2 separate regions of the Homo sapiens genome follow, and region 2 is linked to region 1. Evidence: promoter capture Hi-C in 16 types of primary human blood cells and fetal thymus (Javierre and others, 2016). All regions are on one chromosome and are shown on one strand. Each heading gives the region's core, a stretch centred on a gene start or on the middle of the fragment in contact. The rest is flanking DNA. Distances are from core to core; before and after follow the strand shown. Region 1 holds the start of ADORA2A-AS1 (ADORA2A antisense RNA 1). Region 2 has its middle 24 kb from the start of SUSD2.

Region 1 (4,900 bases), core at 294-2,793:
TAGCCCCTGAGTTATTTCCACCTGCAGACCCTGAAGCTACTGTAGCAGGTTGAGCTGTGTCTCCATCCTGACACCTGGAACCTGTCATTGTGATTTTATTTGGAAAAAGGGTCTTCACAGACGTAATTAAGGTCAGGATCTCAAGATAAGATCATCCGGGATTATCCAAGTAAGCTCCAAATCCAAAGACGTGTGTGTGTGTGTGTGTGTGTATGTGTGTGTGTGTGTGTGTGTGTGTGTGTGTTTGAGACAGGGCCTCACTCTGACTCCCAGGCTGGAGTGCAGAGGAGAGATTTTGGCTCACTGCAGCCTCGACCTCCCAAGCTCAAGTGATCCTCCCGCCTCAGCCTGCCATGTAGCTAGGACTACAGATGCATGCTACCATGCTTGGCTATTTTTTTAAATGCTTTATAGAGATGGGTGTCTCACTATGTTGCCCAGGCCGGTCTCGAACTCCTGAGTTCAAGCAATCTTCCAGCCCTGGCCTCCCAAAGTGCTGAGATTACAGGTGTGAGCCCGGCCAGGAAGTGTCTTTTTCAGCTTTGTGGACACAGTGTCCAGCAGTATACAGCCCTCAGAAAGTCCTGGTGATGCACAAGCTTGCAGGGAGTGGAAAAACCAGCGCCCATGGCTTGCCAGTGGGAAAGGTTCCCTCGCCAACTAAATGCAGACAGCCTCTATTTCCAAGGGTCAGCCAGAGGTCGGGTCACCGCAAGAAGGATGGTCTGGGGCCGGACAATCAGTACACCTGCTGGGTGCTCTGGTTGGAGACAGTGATCCAGCCAGACATCCAGAAGACAAGCCCGGCTCCGGGGAGGAGGGTTGGGATGGCCACAGAGAAAGCCCTGGAGAGTAAAATCCCGTCCTTTTCCTTCCGGTTCTGGGCAACGTGGGGGAGAAGAGATTTGTAAAGGTCACGCCAGGATTCTGCAACCCCCAAGGACCCCGGGGCCGTCCCATCAAGACCTACTATGGTCTCTGCCCGCCAACTCAGGACTTCTCACCGCCTCCCCTGAGCCCTTCAGACCCTGAGGCCCTCCCTGCCTGCTCCCCCAGACCCACACTCTGTGGCCCCAAGACCCCATTAGCTTAGCCTCTTGGCTGCGGACCTGAGTTCCTTGCCATAGAGAACGCGCTTCACTTCCTGCAAGTCGGGGAGCGGCAGGTGCTTCTCCAAGCATTCCTCCAGCGACTTCCACTCAGCGCCCGCCATGGCCACGGTCCGCCAGTGCTTGTGTCCGCGCACGAACTGCCTGCCCTTTGCCCGCAGTGGGAGGAGGTGCCCAGGCCCGGTCAGGCGCCCTTGCCTTTATCTCTTACTCTCGCTCCCAGACAGCTCAAGTGAGGACACGCCACTTCCTCGCGCAGCCAATCCGCCTTCCAGGGCTTCGCGGGTGGGACCGCCCCTGGCCTTTAGCGCTCCTTCGGCACGTGCCAGGACACGTTCCTCTTGCCGCCTCCGCAGCACACGGCCAATCAGCCTCCAGGGCCTCACGTGGGGAGGGGGCGAAAGGATCCGGCGCTTGCCCTTCGCCCCTTGCCCTTCGCCTCTCGGTTAGCAAGCGATGAGGCACGCCCCTCCACAGGCGGGACTGCGCGGAGTCGTCGCGCCTCGGCTGCGAGTCAGGACTGAGGCTGTCCCCCTCCCGCCTCCCTCAGGGGCCCTGGCGCGGGTGCCTCCAGGTTCCACCCCTCACCTGCCCCTTGGTGTCGGGCCGGGACCCTGGAGAGGTCGTGAGGGAGTCCTGGGCGCGGGCTCCGGGAGGCTGCGGCGCGGGTCTGAGGTAAACGGCCCGGCCGCTGCGGGCCCTTGCGGGGGCTGGTTCCAGCAGCAACCGCCGGGCAGGGCCCCTCCCGACCGCGACCTCCTGTCCGCACCGTAGGGCAGCCGGCCGGGCCAGCCTCCCTCACAGGACTACCGAGGAAGGTAAGGGAAGAGTTTCAGTGTCCCACGGGCACGCGGCGGCTGCACCTCTGTCGTCCGGAGCCTTTATGTCTGGGGAGTTTTAACCCCCGAGGGGCCAGGCTCGGAGTCCATGCCGCTACCTGGGTCGCGCGTTCCCACCCCCGGCTTTGGGGCCGCTGGAGCCGAAGGTCAGTTGCTCGCCTGCGGTTCCGTGCGCCTCGGTGGAGCTAATATTGTAAAATGCGGGGTCCCCGGGTGAGGGCGCGCCCCCTGCACCCTAGGGCCCCTTTTCAGCCCTGCCCTCTGCCGCGTGTGTGCAAATATGGGCACTTTCCTGCGGTAGGGTGCGCTTTAAACTGTCACTGAGATGGTAGGAGTGAGAGCCCCATTTGCTGTTACCGCGAATCCAGAGGGTGCCATCCCTTCAGGAGCAAAGAAGCGTCCTCTTTGGGGTCCTATTGAGAATTAGGGCAGTAAGGCCCGCTTACTTCGGCGGGCAGCCGGGTGAAGGAACCAGTCTGTAGAAATCCTATTCAGCCACTTGTAAACCTTGTGACCCCAGGAAAGTTTAACTTAGTCGCTGGAGGCTTCTGTTGCTTTATCTGTAAAATAGGAATGCAAAGATTACGCTGCGGGGTTGTTTAAAAGTCAGAAAAGGCCAGCACGGTGGCTCATGCCTGTAAACCCAGCACTTTGGGAGGCCTAGAAAGGGGTATTGTTTGAGGCCAGGAACTCCAGACCAGCCTGGGTAACACAGCAAGACCCTGTATCTACAAAATAATGTTTTACAAATTAGCCTATCATGGTGGTGCGCACCTGCTTCTTGGGAGGCAGAGGTGAGAGGATCGCTTGAGCCCAGGAGTTCGAGGCTCCCTAGCTATGATCTTAACACTGCACTTCAGCCTGGGCAACAGAGTGAGACGCAATCTCAAAGAAAAAAAAAAAAGAGGCAAGTAAAATGAGCACAAAGGGAGCTAATTTATATCTAGAATCAGCTACTAACATTAAAAATATTATACTTCAGGTATTTTGTTTCAGCTGCTAATTCACAAGTTTTGTTCCTTGTTTTGATAAATGTTAGCTGACGGTTTCTAGTATCTGATGGAGCTGCCTTCTCAAGAGTGCAAACTCTGAGGACTTTCTATGTGTAAGGCACTGCTAAGAGAGCCATATAAAGACAGATAAGACCTAGTACCTTTTCTTTGTGATTTAAAGTAAAGACGGCTGGGCACGTTGGCTCACACCTGTAATCCCAGCACTTTGGGAGGCCGAGGCGGGCAGATCACCTGTGGTCAGGAGTTCGAGACCAGCCTGACCAACATGGTGAAACCCCGTCTCTACTAAAAATACAAAAATTTGCCGGGCATGGTGGCGCATGCCTGTAATCCCAGCTACTCGGGAGGCTGAGGCAGGAGAATCGCTTGAACCCAGGAGGGGAGGCGGAGGTTGCAGCGAGCTGAGATCGTGCCATTGTACTCCAGCCTGGGCAACAAGAGCAAAACTCCGTCTCAAAAAAAAAAAAAAAAAAAAAAAAAGGAAAGACAAACTTGTAAATACAGCAGATTTAAATAATTTGAGATGAAAAAGATACTATGGAGTGCAAAGAGGTGATTTCTGGCTTAGAGAAATTGTTGGAGGTCTCATGGAAGAGGCTTCAAAGCCAACTCAAAATGCTTCAAACTGAATGAACTTTCACCTCCTTTCTCAAGCAGGCTCTTATCTTCTTTTGTTGTTGTTGTTGTTGTTGTTACAGAGTTTCGCTTTTGTCGCCCAGGCTGCAGTGCAATGGTGCGATTTTGGCTCACTGCAACCTCCGCCTCCCAGGTTCAAGCGATTCTCCTGCCTCAGCCTCCCGAGTAGCTGGGATTACAGGCGTGTGTCATCACACCCAGCCAATTTTTTGTATTTTTAGTAGAGATGGGGTTTCACCATGTTGGTCAGTCTGGTCTTGAACTCCTGACCTCAGGTGATCCGCCTGCCTCAGCCTCCTGAAGTGCTGGGATTACAGGCATGAGCCACCGCGCCCAGCCTCTTATCTTCTGCACTGTATTCCCTATTTCAGTAATGGCCTCACCACCCACTGATTTGCCAAGTTTTTGAGAGTCATCTGCAACTCCTCCATGTTCTTTCTTTCCTCAATACAATCAGGCATCAAGTTCTGCTAAATTTATCTCCTGGATTTTGTTCATATCCTTCCTCCTCCCTCCTCATGTCTGCCTCCTGTCATCTTTTGCTTGAATTGTTGCCAGTCTTGTAACTTGTCTCTCCACCTCCAATGTCTATCCTTAGTTGTCTTTCTAAAACTAGTATCTTACCATCCTTTGTACCCTCTCATTCAGTGTATCCCTACCTGGAATCACCTTTCATCCTTCATTTTGTGACCGCCTTCTCATCCTCCACCATGCAGTTGAAACATCACTTCTGTAAAGACTTCTCCAATTGTCCCAGAAAAAGTTAGGCTCCCCCAGGCCTTCATAGATAGTTCTCTTGTTACATTTATTAAACAGTATTGTGTAGTTATTTCTGTGCTGTCCTCAGAAAATGGACCGGATCTACTTTTGTATCCAGAGGACTTTAGCACTCAATAAATGATTATTGAAGGAATCAACTCTGGGATCATGGACAAATTCATTAAGGTGATAACACTGAGCTGGACCTCGAAGCAGTAGTAGAAGCTATTATTACTAGTTAAATTGTTTAGTTCATCTTTCCCTATTGTTCAGTGACAGGTCATTCGTACTTGTTCATTGTAAACCAGTGTTTCATAAATAAAACTTAGGATTTAAAAAGTTGTATTAAAAATGTTTATATTTGCCCAATTTACTTTTTACTCTGAATGATAGCAAGACACTTCACTAGCTCTTTCTGTGGTAATCATTTTGTTTTTTGCTTTTTTTTTTGAGTTGGAGTCTCCCTCTGTCACCCAGGCTGGAGTGCAGTGGAGCAATCTCAGCTCACTGAAACCTCCACCTTCTGGGTTCAAGTGATTCTTGT
Region 2 (4,629 bases), core at 225-2,724, 290 kb after region 1:
TTTGATTCATGAACAGAGATGCATAGCCCTTAAAACATGAAGAAACCAGGGCTTGAAAGGAAAAAATATGCGTCACCACCAATTTAGGTTTGTTCCAGGAATGCAAGATTGGCTGAACATTAGAAAATGAAGCCTCACACCTGTAATTCCAGCACTTTAGGAGGCTGAAGCCTATGGATCGCTTGAGCCCAGAAGTTCGAGACCAGCCGAGCCAACATGGTAAAACCCTGTCTCTATCAGAAAATGCAAAAATTAGCTGGGCATGGTGGCATGCGCCTGTAGTCCCAGCTACTCGGGAGGCTGAGGTTGGGGGATCACTTGAGCCTGGGAGGTGGAAAGCTATAGTGAGCCATGATCACACCACTGCCCCCGAGCCTGGATGACAGGGCCTGACCCTGTCACAAAACAAAAAGAAAAGAAAAAAGAAAATCAAGCAACACAATTCACCACACTCACAGAATAAAGAAGAAAAGTCACTCACCATCTCAGTAGATGCAGAAAAGCATTTGATAAAATTTGCCAACATTCAGTTACAATAAAAACTCTCAGCAACTAGGAATGAAAGGAAACTTCCTTAATCTGATAAATCGTGGCTACAAAAACCTACAGTAAATGTCATGCTTAAAGGTACAACATAAAAAGCCTCCCTTTTGAGATTGAAACCAAGCTAAGAATTATTTCATTATTTCCTTCCAGTATTACAGGGGAAGTTTTAGCCAATGTAATAAGGTGAGAAAAACAAAAGCCATAAAGGTTGGAAAGGAGGACATAAGACTGTCATTGACAGAGCAGGAGCATTGCCATCTTGGACAAGCACCATCATTTTAAAGTTCACCTTGATCAAAAACTGCCTAAATCCAAAGGGCATCAGCCTAATGGCTAAGGTCAGCATGACCATAAACCACAAATAACATCTCCAACCAGAAACATTCTAAAGCCCTCCCTGACCAGAGACATGCCAGCCCCGAGATAACCTCCCCTCCGGCCAGAGAGACATTAGCCCCAAGATAACCTCCCCTGGGACCAGAGACATTCCAACCCCCCCATAAACTTCTCCCCCACACAGAAACATTCCAAGCTTGTGATAAGCCCTCTAACCCTAAAAAACCAATAAATACTATTAGTATTAAAGACCAAGTATCCAGTAGAAATATGCACAGGGATGTGATTCACTGTTCACAGAAAGAAAACTACAAATGACTGTTTGTAAGAGAGAGTGCCCCTGACTGAAATCAGCCAGAAGCCCCTCTGGAGAATAAACCTGTCTTTGACTGTTGAGCCACTTTTCATGTTTCCTTCCTCTTTCTTTAACTCTTACAGTCATTATCTGTAGATACTCAAGAAACGGTTAGAAATAGGTGAATTGGGCCGGGCGCGGTGGCTCAGGCCTGTAATCCCAGCACTTTGGGAGGCCGAGACGGGTGGATCACAAGGTCAGGAGATCGAGACGATCCTGGCTAACACGGTGAAACTCCGTCTCTACTAAAAATACAAAAAATTAGCCGGGTGCGGTGGCAGGCGCCTGTAGTCCCAGCTACTCAGGAGGCTGAGGCAGGAGAATGGTGTTAACCCAGGAGGCGGAGCTTGCAGTGAGCCGAGATCGCGCCACTGCACTCCAGCCTGGGAGACACAGCCAGACTCCGTCTCAAAAAAAATAAAAAAATAAATAAATAAATAAAAATAAAATAAAATAAAGAAATAGGTGAATTGAGCAAGGTCATTGTAATACAGAAGTTATTAAAAATAATTTTTAGACAAATAATAAAGGTAAAGGTTCTCGGTAAAAATTTTCCTGTAATAAAAAACAACCCCCAAACCATCTCTTTTCTAACAAAAAAGGCAGCTCGAAGGGCGGGGCCAGCAAGCTTTAATATGCAAATGTCGGCCTTTAAAAACTGGGTTCACCCAATATGGCAATTCCCACCATCATCTCCTTGTCACCAGGTATCCCAAGTGTCATGGCCACCTCCAGATAACATCATGTGTTCAAAACATTGCAATCTGCATTTGCATATTAAAGGACTAAAGTAAAAGGGCCAGGTTTTTCACTGGCTGGGTAAATAACACACCTGGTCAAACCAATCCCCTGGGCCTTATGCAGATCAAACACCAACTCCTCCAGCATCCCAATAAAAGCAACCACTTTTCTGACTCACATGGGGTTTCTCTTTATTCAAATCCCCCTGCTCTGTCTCTGTAAGGGGAAGCTGTTTTCTTCTTCCTTCTTTCTTGCCTATTAAACATTTTGCTCCTTAAAACCACTCCACCAGCCTGACCAACATAGTGAAACCCCGTCTGTACTAAAAATACACATATTAGCCAGGTGTGGCAGCACATGTCTGTAATCCCAGCTACTCAGGAGGCTGAGCCAAGAGAACTGCTTGAAACTGGGAGGCGGAGGTTGCAGTGAGCTGAGATGGTGCCATCGCACTCCAGCCTGGGCAACAAGAGTGAAACTCCGTCTCAAAAAAATAAAAAGCTAAAAACAAACAAAAAACCATTCCACATGTGTCGGTGTCATTAATCCTATCAGTACAAAACCAAAACCCTGGTGTTCCTCCAGTCATCAAAGCCGCATCAATTGGAATCAAGGAATATATGCAAAAATCAATGTTATTTCTACGTACCAGCCATAAACAAAAAAACCTTTTTTGAAGTAAAATCGCTTGTAGTAGTGTGAATCAAAAAGCATCTGAAACAGGTCTCAATCAACTTAAGAGTTTATTTTGCCAAGGTTAAGGACAATGCCCAGGAGGGGAAAAAAAATGGAATCACAGAAGCAGCCTATGGTCTGTGCCTTTCCCCAAAGGTGACTTTGAGGGCTTCAAAATTTAAAAAAGAAGAGTGAGGTGAGAAGATTGCTTGAGCCCAGGAGTTCAAGACCAGCCTGAGGAACATCGTGAAACCCCATCTCTACAAAAAAATACAAAAATTGGCCAGATATGGTGGTGCATGCCTGCAGTCCCTGCTACTCAGCAGGCTGAAGCACAAGGATCGATTGAGCCCAGGAGGTCCAGGCTACTGTGAGCCATGATTGCCCCACTGTACTCCACCCTGGGTGACAGAGCAAGACCCAGTGTCTCTCTCTCTCTCTCCCTCTCTCTCTCTCCTTCTTTCTCTCTCTCTCTCTATATATATAGCTCAATTCACCTATTTCTAACAGTTTCTCGAGTATCTACAGATAATGACTATAACAGTTAAAGAAAGAGGAAGGAAACATGAAAAGTGGCTCAACAGTTAAAGACAGGTTTATTCTAGAGAATAAACCTGAGAGGGGCTTCTGGCTGATTTCAGTTGGGCGCTCTTTCTTACAAACAGCCATATATATATATATATATATATAGAGAGAGAGAGAGAGAGAGAGAGAGAGAGAGAAAGAAAGCACAAAGGAGCAGGTAGGGGAAGAGTAAATTACGTATTCCTCTTGCATTACCAGAAAGAGGTCCCAATCCAGACCCCAAAGAAGGTTCTTGGATCTCCAGCAAGAAAGAATTCAGGGCAAGTCCATAGTAAGTTGATTAAGACAGTAAAGGAATAAAAGAATGGCTACTCCATAGACAGAGCAGTGTGGAGGGCAGCTGGTTGCCCATTTTTATGGTTATTTTTTATTATATGTGAAACAAGGGATAGATTATTTATGCCTCCCCTTTTTAGACCACATAGGTTAACTTCCTGACATTGCCACAGCATTTGTAAACTGTCATGGCGCCAGTGAGAGTGTAGTACTGAGGAAGACCTGAGGTCACTCTCGTTGCCATCTTGGTTTTGGTGGGTTTTAGCTGGCTTCTTTACTGCAACCTGTTTTATCAGCAAGGTCTTTATGACGTGTATCTTGTGCCGACCTCCTATCTCATCCTGTGACTAAGAATGACTTGACCTCTTGGGAATGCAGCCCAGTAGGTCTCATCCTCATTTTACCCAGCCCCTATTCAAGATGGAGTTGCTCTGGTTCACACGCCTCTGATACTTGTGCTCAGTAAATCAGTAAATCAGCACTTTACACAAGATTAGGTGAACATCGAGTGGAGATATTGAACTCAAGATAAGGTGAACATAGACTGGAGGTATTGAACCTTTTTTTTTTTTTTTTTTTTGAGACAGTCTCACTCCTTCACCCAGGCTGGAGAGCAGTGGTGCTATCTTGGCTCACTGCATCCTCTGCCTCCTGGGTTCAAGCGATTCTCCTACCTTAGCCTCCCGAGTAGCTGGGATTACAGGAACATGCCACCACTCCTGGCTAATTTTTGTATTTTCAGTAGAGATGGGGTTTCACCATATTGGCCAGGCTGGTCTCGAACCCCTGAACTCAGATATGCCCACCTCTGCCTCCCAAAGTGCCGGGATCACAGCCGTGTGCCATGCACCCAGTCAGATTTGGGCATTGTTGTTGTTGGTGGTGGTGGTGTTTTGAGACACTCTGTCACCCAGGCTGGAGTGCAGTGGCACAATTTTGGCTCACAGCAACCTCCACCTCCTGGGTTCAAGTGATTCTCCTGCCTCAGCCTCCCAAGTAGCTGGGATTACAGGCGCCTACCACCACGCCTGGCTACTTTTTTTTGTATTTTTAGTCGAGATGGGATTTCACCATGTTCGCCAGGCTGGTCTCGAACCCCTGACCTCAGGTAATCA

The links. The method cuts DNA at HindIII sites, captures the fragments that hold promoters and counts their contacts. A CHiCAGO score of 5 or more calls a contact.
Region 2: a fragment that was not itself captured here is called in contact with the fragment with the promoter of ADORA2A-AS1 in region 1 in 1 of 17 cell types (monocytes); the score reaches 7.8 in monocytes.

What each region holds. Positions count from the first base shown.
Region 1 is chr22:24,491,717-24,496,616 of GRCh38, reverse strand. ADORA2A-AS1 (ADORA2A antisense RNA 1) reads left to right here and starts at 1,543. Exons shown (of 7, transcript NR_028484.3): 1 at 1,543-1,927. UPB1 (beta-ureidopropionase 1) reads right to left here and starts at 1,285. Exons shown (of 10, transcript NM_016327.3): 1 at 1,110-1,285. The coding sequence starts at 1,213. The HindIII fragment of the contact is 15,084 bases long and covers 602-4,900 here.
Region 2 is chr22:24,203,352-24,207,980 of GRCh38, reverse strand. No RefSeq gene overlaps it. Among named protein-coding and RNA genes, the nearest start is that of SUSD2, 24 kb to the right of the region's middle. RefSeq lists an enhancer at 1,723-2,691. The HindIII fragment of the contact is 787 bases long and covers 1,081-1,867 here.